Regions from separate parts of the Homo sapiens genome. Here region 2 is linked to region 1. Evidence: promoter capture Hi-C in human tissues and cell types (Jung and others, 2019). All regions are on one chromosome and are shown on one strand. The core of a region is centred on a gene start or on the middle of the fragment in contact, and the rest is flanking DNA. Distances in the headings are between cores, read along the strand shown. Region 1 holds the start of SLCO4C1 (solute carrier organic anion transporter family member 4C1). Region 2 has its middle 360 kb from the start of SLCO4C1.

Region 1 (5,166 bases), core at 2,176-4,675:
TGGAAGGCCCAAATCATAAGATCGCTCTTAAGCATGGAATCAGAGCAAGGGGAGTTAGTAGGACAATCTTGATAACTTCTGTCATTAAGCCACTTCACCTTGTTTCATCCAATTCCTGAAAGGAAAGACCTACTGCACATCCCAGAGAATGATATCCAGAGGCAGGGACTGCTTCTGTTTACAGTGTGGGAGCCTTACCATAAATTTTGGACATTCTCTTTCTCCCATTCTCCACCCTTTAAAAACATAGCAAATAAAATGTACTATAAGAAGAGTAAAGTATCAATTACCTTCTGAAATTTAAGATGGTATATTTTGACTGTGTTCATTAGAGGCAGATTTAACCTAGATTGACCAAACAATTAATTTTAAAATGGACGTTTTTCCATAGAATTATCAGGGATGAAAACTAACAATTTTTCTTTCCTATTTTTGTTTTTTGGTTTTTGTTGCAAACCGAAGCCCCTTCCATCACTGCAGCATAAAGAATGTAAGGGAACAGGAAATTGAAACTTTCAGTAAGAGCAAGATGTATTTAAGATGAAGCAATAGTAATTTTGCTAATCTTTAACCAAAATTCTCTCTCTAACACTGTGAGAGTGGAGATTTCTCCTTAGTATGAATTTAAGTGCACGATGATTATGCTACTCTGATTTTGATAGTATAGCATGGATTTATTAAGTCACAGCTGCAAAATAGTCTTAAGCCATGATTGTATGTAATCACATCCCATCAAAACAAAATTTTCTGGTTGTGTAAATTACTTCGTATTCCATAGATAAAATGGTGATCAAAATAGTTACCTACTTTGAGTCCATTTTTGTAGAAAGCAAGCCCAGGAAGATTACATACCATGCTTAATTTGAATACCTCCAAAATCTAGGTTTTCAGAGCAGCATTAATCTTCTAAGCCTCACGAATATCACAGAATTTTGAATTTTGATCTCTTAAAATTGCTATGCAATAATTTAACCTGATGGAGATACACTGTAGTTATTAAAAGACAGAAAATGCAAAGTTTAGGGAAGACTTCTGGCTAAGAGAGCCGAGTTCAGATCCTTAAGTGGCAGTTCACTTATTAGCTATGTGACTTTGGGACAGTTACTAATTCTTTATGGGATATGGTTTCCTCAATATGTAAACTATATATAACAGTGCAGCTGCTTTTGTAAAGATTTTAATAATGGGGCATATAGCAGACATTTTAAATGTTAGCTCCTACTTCTACTCTTTCCCCATGTTTTAGGCCAATCTAGAATTTATTTTTATTTTTAATTCTTATTTTTTTGAGACAAGGTCTGGCTCTATGGCACAGCTGGAGTACTCATTGCAACCTCACCCTCCCAGGTTGTAAGCGACCCTCCCACCTCAGCCTCCCAAGTATCTGGAACTACAGGCGTGCACCACCATGCCAGGCTAAGTTTTGCATTTTTGGTAGAGACAGGGTTTTGTCGTGTTGCCCAGGCTGGTCTCAAACTCCTGGACTCAAGGCACCCACCTTGGCCTCCCAAAGTACTGGGATTACAGGCCTGCACCTCTGCGCCCGGCTGGCCAGTCTAGAGTTTTCTCGATTGTGAGGAAACAGGTAACAGAATGTACCTCTGTCCAAAGTAAGATACATATTTTATATCTGTCTCTCAACCCAGTAAACACAGCATATATAATTGAAACAAAAGTTTCACAAAATAGTATTTATCATATTATGTGCCATGTACTATGTATTATTACTGTCTGTTTCCTATTAAAACATAAGCACCATAAGGGTAGGGGTATTTGCCAGTCTTTGTTCACTTGTGTACCCCCAGAACTTAGAACAATGTTTGGCACCTAGGACACAAGAATTTTTTGTGTCTGTGTTAAGTGAAAGAATGAATGACTAAATTGTACCTACCATGACACAATGGTGTTAAGCTCTTCGAAGTGTTTTTCTTATTTATTCCACAGTTAGACATGTATTATTATTATTATTATTATTATTAAGAGACAGAGTTTCACTCTTTCACCCAGACTGGATTGAAGTGGCACAATCTCGGTTCACTGTACCCTCCACCTTCCGAGTTCAAATGATTCTCCTGCCTCAGCCTCCCAAGTAGCTGGGATTACAGGCCTGCACCACCACACCTGGCTAATTTTTGTATTTTTAGTAAAGACAGTGTTTCACCATGTTGGCCAGGCTAATCTTGAACTCCTGACCTCAGGTAATCCACCCGCCTCAGCCTCCCAAAGTGCTAGGATTACAGGCGTGAGCCACCGCGCCTGGCCCGGTAGAAATTATTTACATGATTGTCATCACTGTATATCTTACATATGCAATATACAGCAGAGAGACAATTTCTGGTCCTTCAGTTTCGGAGAAGGAAAAGCAAAGCAGTGGTTATGCTGTGATGTTCATCCTGGTGGTGATGGGGGTGGGGTGGGGTGGATTTCTTTTTCTAAGGAGGACTGAGGCAGGAAAATAGGGTCTGGAGGCAGGAAACATAAGGCCTATTCACACTTCAGCTGTAACAGGAAATATCCTCTCCATAGGGCGTAGGCCATAAATGACTTTGTAACTTTACTTCATCTTCTCCCTTTACATAGGGCATACCCAAAGTAACCAATGGAATCCTCTAGGGGGTATTTAAACTCCCCAAAATTCTGTAACCGGGCCTTTGAGCCCCTATGCTCGCCCGTTCCCACACTGTGGAGTGTACTTTCATTTTCAATAAACCCCTTCATTCCTTCCTTGCTTTGTTTGTGCGTTTTCTTCAATTCTTTCTTCAAGATGCCAAGAACCTGGACACCTTCTACCAGTAACAGGATGACAGGCAAGAGTCTTATCAAGATGCTCATGAACCAAAGTATACCTCTGACGTCTTGATTCTTGGAGTCCAAGCCTAGACTGCTTTGGTAAGCAGCAAAGGAAGAAAACGCAAGATAGTTTCCTGAACAATCTCCTGATGCAACTGTTTACAGGTTTCATGTCAGCACCCAAGGGGAGCTTATGGCCAGAGACTCCCACAGTCTCTGTGTGTTCCCAGTGCTTGGGCTCAAGGGAGGCGCGCTGCGGGCTGAAGGCTCAGGTCAGAACCGCAGGGGCTTGGGCGGAGGCGGACTCCGGTCGAAGGCTGTGGGGTGAGAACTCTCGCCCCCTCTACTCGGCCGCCGCCGGGTGGCACGCCCACGCCGCGCCTTCCGGTTGGTCCTTGAGGCGACGGGTGAGGCACAGCTGAGCGCCAAAGCCACAGGCTGGGGCGCTAACGCCCCCGCTCAGCGCTCTGCGCTCCAGACAGCTGCGAGCTGGAGTAGGAAGGTTCAGGCGGTGGCGGAGAGTGCGCTGGAGGCTGGAGGGCCAGGAGGCGGGAAGCTTCCCGCACGGGGGCGCTGTCACCTGCCTGTGGGAGGAGCCAGAGAGGGACCTGGCTCTGCTGCTCTGAAGCACCGGAGTCGGGAGAACCCATCCAGACATGAAGAGCGCCAAAGGTATTGAGAACTTGGCTTTTGTCCCCTCCAGCCCAGACATCCTGCGCCGCTTGTCTGCGTCGCCCTCCCAAATCGAAGTCTCTGCCTTGTCCTCTGACCCCCAAAGAGAGAATTCTCAGCCACAGGAGCTTCAGAAGCCCCAGGAGCCCCAGAAGTCACCAGAGCCATCTCTGCCTTCAGCCCCTCCCAATGTCTCCGAAGAGAAGCTCCGGTCACTGTCGCTGTCCGAGTTTGAGGAGGGGTCTTACGGCTGGAGGAACTTCCATCCTCAATGTCTCCAGCGCTGCAACACACCTGGAGGCTTTCTGCTTCACTACTGCCTCTTGGCCGTCACGCAAGGTAAAGTCCAGCGCCCGCTTGAGGCTCGGGCCAGTGGAGAGCGAGGTGGGCACGGCGAGCCAGCCGGGGGAGAGGGCAGGTGCGCGGGGTCCGTGGGACGGTGGACGCGCCCTGCAAGGTGGCCCCGGGTTTGGAACTTGCTTGCGCTCTCACCAAGGTCAACCTACCGGCCCCCAGCCAGCCTTCCAAAGTTCAGCTTCTCCTTTATCACTACAGTTCAAACTTGCAATACAAGCCTTTTTCTCTTTTGTGTTTTACCTCAGTTTAGCGGATTCAAGACTTACAGGGAAGATTACAAGAACCTTCCTTTGGGAAAGGTATACCCTGGGGAGTTTATTTTACATTATAAAGACAAAAATTTACCTAGGCACTCTTTAAAGGTATTTTACTTTTACATTTGTTTCATTGCCTCAGGGGAAGGAGTAATACGTTTGCAGGTGGGAGTGGGATGCCTTACAAGGAAGAAAGCTATGAAAAATCTATCGTATAAATTAGATACAGACATTCATGTTTTGTGAGTGTATTTAGTTTGAGAGTATGTGGTCACCAGAGGAGCCCAGTGAGTAAATTAGCAAAGGCTCCCGACGTTGTTGAGCCTTAATCTTCATTGTGTTACATTAGTTATCCAGCATCTGTTTTGTTCTAGGATCTCTTTTAGGTTCTCTTGGGAGTTACAGATTCAGTTCAGATTTATACCCTCAGGGGCTTGCAATCTAAGCTCAGTTTGGAGGAGTGATATCCTGGAGGGAGAACAGCTCCCTTGAAAGAAGGCACAGGGAAGGTTAAAGCTGCTTCTGGTGTGTTCAATACAGAGGTTGAAGGAAAATAGGAAGTTAACCTGAGTTGACTTTGAGGAAGGGTGGAGAAGAGGTGGAGAGGAGTCAAGAAGGACATGCCGAAGCTTAGCTGAATTGGAATGTAGATATTTTTTGGTCACTTGAGTCATAGTCCGAGAATATTTTCTGTATAATCAGTCAAGGATTAATTGGAAGAAATACAACCTTAGAAATATAGATTTTAGAGGGTTGGAAACAGCTCATTTTTTAAGTTAATAGAAAACTAAGTCAAAGCCTAAGTATACTTTTTGTTCTTATTCTTCCTCTTCAAGGAACCCAGGGCCCCTTGCTTTGCGCATTAGATGCTAAGTAACCATTTATTGATTGCAAGTCCGCTGCAGCTCTTCTACTGAAGGTAGATTTGTGTTGAAGAATTATTTCCCTGTCCACTTTTCTTGTCCCTACCAAAGTTCCCCTCCATTAATGTCTTGATCATAGTTTTACAAAATTGGTAATTGTGAAGCATCTCAGTGTCAAAGGAATGCGAAGATAAAAAAGTTGGACACAAGTAAAAAATGTCTTATCTTGT
Region 2 (5,686 bases), core at 599-3,098, 350 kb after region 1:
ACTGATTACATACCCCAAAGGAAATAAATTTTCCATAAAAAAGATACCTTTACTTATATGTTTATCTCAGTACTATTCATAATAGTAAAGACATGGAATTAACCCAAGTGTACATCAATGGTCAACTGGATAAAGAAAATGTGGTTATGTGTTTAAGATAAGTAACTAGATGCAACTGGGAAGCGCCACTCTCACAGAGAGAAACCAGGATTTTGGCCATACCAACATAATTTGTACAGACCTTTGGGGAGAAAATGCCAAATGTGGATGGTGAAGACACAGTCACTGATGCTGATGAGAGAGGAGACTAGGAACCCTATGTGGTTATCTAAATGCTACGTCTGGTTCACTGCTCCAAAAGATGCCTGGGTATGGATGAGTGAAGGGACTGGGGGACTGTTCACTCTTGCTGCAAACCTTTGGAATCCTAGCTGCAGTGACCCCACAGCCCATGAATGTGTGAGCCGGCAGGGGATTCTCCCTGGAGATTAGATGGAGATGGAGCTGCAGCAAGCACAAAGCTGGGGACCTTTGAGTGGATCAGCTCTGGCAAAGCTCAGCTGTAAGCACCCATCCCCTAGGGCTGCCCATCTACCTTTGAGAGGCTGTGGCCCCAGCTTATGGCTATGGGGAAAGCCAGGCCAGTTTCTCCCTGGGACTGGGACTTATCTTTCCTGCAGGCCCACCTATCCGCCAGCCTCTCCTAGGGCCACTGCCTGGCTACTCCATACAAGTGTGTATATAATGCAGCCTCTGCTTCCCAGCTCAGTTGCTTTGCTCCACCTACATACTTTCCAGCAACGTAGATGTCCTTTAGATGTCAGGCTGCACCCAAAACCCAACTCCAAGCGACCGGAGGAGGGAGCTGTGAGAGGGTCCTAGTACCTTAGAGCTATGGCCTGTGGCTCAGAAGTACTGAGCTGCGAGCTGTGCTCTGCATTTGAAAGGGGCAGGAGTCACACTCTCAGAAAACTGGAAGAGCTGGGTTGCACAGTTTGATGGGCTGATGTGGGACCTGGCTGTGCCTCCTTCCACTCGGTTGGGGTGTGGCCTGATTCTCTAAGGGACTTCTCCCCAAGGGAGCCCTGTGGCCTGAAAGACCTAACAGCAACAGGAAAGAAAATCATGAGAAGATTGCTGGTGATCAGGGGTAGCTCCCCGGGGGCCTTTGAGCAGATCTGGTGAGGGTGTCACCTCTATCCCCATCGCACTGCAGAACACAACTGCAAATGTGAAGATATACAAAGGAACTGTGTGGCTAGGAACTGCCTATGGCTCTCAAGTGCCATCTATTGGATCGCAGCCCAAACTACATCAAAAATTCTCTCTCATTGGAAACAGCAAGAACGCTACAACAAAGAATCTGTACAAAGCATTAGTCTTCTGAAATTCCAAAAATGAAGGCAATAGGCAATTCTCAGTTTACACCACAACTAAGGAAATACCAGCCCTGCCAGGTGGGAAAGGATCAGTGAAATAACTCTGGCAATTCAAAAAGCCAGAGTGTTCCCTTACCTCCAAATGAGCCCACTAGCTCCCCAGTGATGGTTCTTAACTTGTCTGAATTGTCTGAAATAACAGACATGGAACTCTGAATCTGGATGGCAAGGAAGCTCATTGAAATCAAGAAGAAACTTGAAACAATCTAACATAGTGAAACAATACAGTAAAACTATTCAAGAGCTGAAAGATGAAACTCCCATTTTAAGAAAAATCCAAACTGAGCTTCTTGAGCTGAAAAATTCAGTATGATAATTTCATAATACATTTGAAAGTATTAACTGCAGCATAGCCAAGCTGAGGAAAGAGTCTTCAGGCTAATGCTTCAAATCAACTAAATCAGACAAAAATAGAGACAGAAGAATTAAGAAAAATGAGCAAAACCTCTGAGAAATACAGGATCATGTAAAGAGACAAACCTGTGACTCAGTGGCATTCCTGAGAGAGAAGAAGGGAGAATAAGCAACTTGAGCATTATATTTGAGGATATATTCCACAGCAATTTCCTTAATCTTGCTAGAGAGGTTGACATGAAAATCTAAGAAATACAGAGAACTCCAGCCAGATACTATACAAGGCAACCATCCCCAAGACACATAGTCATCAGATTCACTAAGGCCAGTGAAAAAGAAAATATCTTAAAAGTAGCTAGAGAGGAAGGTTCAGGTAACCTAAAGAAGGAACCCCATCAGGCTAGCAGAAGACCTCTCAGCAGAAACTTTTATCAGCCAGAAGACATTGAGGGCCTATTTTCGGTGTCCTTTAAGAAAAGAAAACCCAACCAAGAATTTAATATTCTGCCTTACTAAGTTTCATAAGTGAGGGAGAAATAAAATCCTTTTCAGACAGGCAAATATTGCGGGAATATGTTTCAACTAGACCAGTCTTACAAGAAGTTTTTAAGGGACTGTTAAATATGGATTCTAAAGAAGGACACTTGCTATCACAAAAGCACATCTAAGCATACGGCCCACAGGCACTATAAAATGCAACTACGCATCAAGTCTACATAACAACCAGCTAGCAACACTATGACAGGATAAAAATCACACATATCAATGCTAACCTTGAGTATAAATAGTCTAAATGTCTAACTTAAAAGACACAGTGTCAGACTGGATACAAAGACAAGACGCAAACATCTGTTGTCTCTAAGAGACCCACCTCGCATATAATGATATCCAAGGGCTAAATAAAAGAGTGGACTAATATGTAGCATGCAAATGGAAAACCAAAAAGAGCAGGAGTCTATTCCTGTATCAGATAAAACAAACTTTAAACCAATCAAAATTAAGAAGGACAATGAAGGGCATTACATAACGATAAAGGGTACAATCCAACAAGAAGCCTTAACTATTCTAAATATATACACCCCCAACATTGGAGCACCCAGATTCATAAAATGGGTTCCTGGCCAACAAAAAGACTTAGACAATCACAGAATAATAGTGGGAGACATTAACACCCCACTGACAGTGTTAGACAGATCTCGGAGGCAAAAAACTCACAAAGAAACTCTGGACTTCAACTTGACACTTGACCAACTGTACCTAATGACACCTACAGAATACTTTACCCTACAACTACAGAATATACATTCCTCTCATCTGCACATGGAACATATTCTAAGATCAACCACATGCTTGGTGGTGAAGCAAGCCTTGATAAATCCAAAAAAATTAAAATCATACCAAACCAAACACACTCTTGGACCACAGTGCAATAAAAAATAGAAATCAATACCAAGAGTATCTCTCAAAATGATACAAATACATGGAAATTAAACAACTTACTCCTGAATAACTCCTGGGTAAACATAATTAAGGCAAACATTTTTTAAAACTTGAAATTAATGTAAATAGGTACACAACTTACCAAAATCTCTGGGATGCAGCAAAAGCAGTGTTACAAGGAAAGTTTATAGCTCGTAACTCCTTCATCAAGAAATTAGAAAGTCTCAAGTTAACAATCTATTGTTACACCTAAAGGAACTGGAATAAAAAATAACAAACCAAACCCAAAACTAGCAGAAGAAAATAGATAACTAAAATTAGAGAATAACTTGTTGAAATTGAAATGCAAATTCCATACAAAAGATCAATGAAATGCAGATGGTTTTTTTGAAAAAAATAAATAAGACTGATGGGCCCCTAGCTAAACTAACCAAAATAAAACAGAAAGAGAAGATCGAAATAAGGACAATCAGAAATGACAAAGGTGATATTACAACATACAAAAGATATCAGAGACTACTATGAACAACTGTATGCACACAAATTAGAAAATCTAGAGGAAATGGACAAATTCCTGGAAGTACACTATCTTCCAAGATTAAATGAGGTACAGATTGAAACCCTGAATAGACCAATATCAACTTCTGAAATTGAAACAGTAATAAGGAGCACCCCCTCAAAAAAAAAAGCCCCGACCAGATAAATTCACAGCCAAATTCTACCAGACACACAAAGAAATGCCAATATACCAACAATATTAAAACTATTCCAAAAAATTGAGGAGGAGGGGCTCCTCCCTAACACATTCTATGAAGCCACCATCAGCCTGATATCAAAATCTGACAAAGACACAACGAAAAAAGGAAACTTCAGACCAATATCCCTCACAAACATACACATAAAGGTCCTCAACAAAATACTAGCAAATTGAATCCAGCAGCACATAAAAAAACTTAATACATGTCTTTTTTGGGAACATGAATGGAGCTAGAGGCTATTATCCTTAGCAAACTAACGTAGAGACAGAAAATCAAATACAACATGTTCTCATTTATAAGTGAGAGCTAAATGATGAAAAGAAAAGATAATTATTGGGTACTGGGCCTAATACGTGGGTGATGAAATAATCTGCACAACAAATCCCTGTGACACGAGTTCACCTATGATGTTAAAAACCTTCACATGTACTTCTGAACCTAAAATAAAAGTTTTTTTTTTAAAGTTAATATACACTATGACCAAGTAGGTTTTATTTCTGAGATATAAAGCTGGTTCAATGTACACAAACCAATAAATGTGATTTACCACGTATACAAAATCAAAAGCAAAAACCATATGATCATCTTCGTAGATGTAGAGAAAGCATTAAATAAGAAACAACATCCCTTCGAAGTAGAAACTCTCAACAGACTAGGCATTAAAAGAAGATCCCTCAAAATAATAACAGCCATCTATCACAAACCCACAGCCAACATTACACTGAGTGGGCAAAAGTTTGAACTATTTCCCTTGAGGCCTGGAACAAGGCAAGGATGTCCATTCCCATCACTCCTATTCAACATAGTACTGGAAGTCCTAGCCAGAGCAATCAAGCAAGGGAAAGAAATAAAAGGCATTCAAGTAGGAAAAGAAGGAGTCAAACTATCTCTCTTCACTAATGTTATGATTTTGTACCCAGAAAATCCTAAAAGCTCTGACAAAAGGCTCTAGAATGGATAAACAGTCTTAGTAAGGTTTTGGGATACAAAATCAATGTACACAAACAGTAGCATATCTGTACAACAACACCATCTAGGCTGAAAGTGAAATCAAGAACACAATCCCACTCACAAGACCCACAAAGAACATGAAATACCTGGGAATACAGCTAACCAAAGAGGTAAAATATCTCTACGAGGAGAAGCACAAAACGCTGTTGAAAGAAGTCAGAGATGACACAAATAACTGGAAAAAAAACAGTCCATGCTCATAGATTAGAAGAATCAATATCATAAAAATGACTATACTGCCCAAAGCAATTTAGAGATTCAATGCTATTCCTACAAAACTACCAACATCATTCTTCACAGAATTAGAGAAAACTATTCTAAAATTCATATGGAACCAAAAAAGAGCCCAAATAGCCAAAGCAATCCTAATAAAAAAGAACAAAGCTGGAAGCATCACACTGCCCGACTTCAAACTATACTATAAAGCCACAGTAAACAAAACAGTTTTGTACTGGAAAAAAAAAAAAACCCAGACACATAGACCAATGGAACACAATAGAAAACTCAGAAATATAGCTACACAATGACAACCATTTGATCTCAAACAAGGGTGACAAAAACAAGCAATGAGGAAAGAACTCCCCATTCAAAAAAATGGTGCTGGAATAACTGGCAAGCCATATGCAGAGTTATTGAAGCTGGACACTTTTTACCACATACAACAATTAACTCAAAATGGATTAA

The links. Contacts are between HindIII fragments. The study calls those that stand out against the background at their distance.
Region 2: a contact is called between a fragment that was not itself captured here and the fragment with the promoter of SLCO4C1 in region 1, in 1 of the 25 tissues and cell types used here (dorsolateral prefrontal cortex).

Annotation. Positions count from the first base shown.
Region 1 is chr5:102,294,543-102,299,708 of GRCh38, reverse strand. It overlaps SLCO4C1 (solute carrier organic anion transporter family member 4C1), which reads left to right and starts at 3,425. Exons shown (of 13, transcript NM_180991.5): 1 at 3,425-3,801. The coding sequence starts at 3,447. RefSeq lists an enhancer at 3,460-3,659. The HindIII fragment of the contact is 20,431 bases long and covers 1-4,024 here.
Region 2 is chr5:101,938,013-101,943,698 of GRCh38, reverse strand. No RefSeq gene overlaps it. Among named protein-coding and RNA genes, the nearest start is that of SLCO4C1, 360 kb to the left of the region's middle. The HindIII fragment of the contact is 5,198 bases long and covers 1-4,447 here.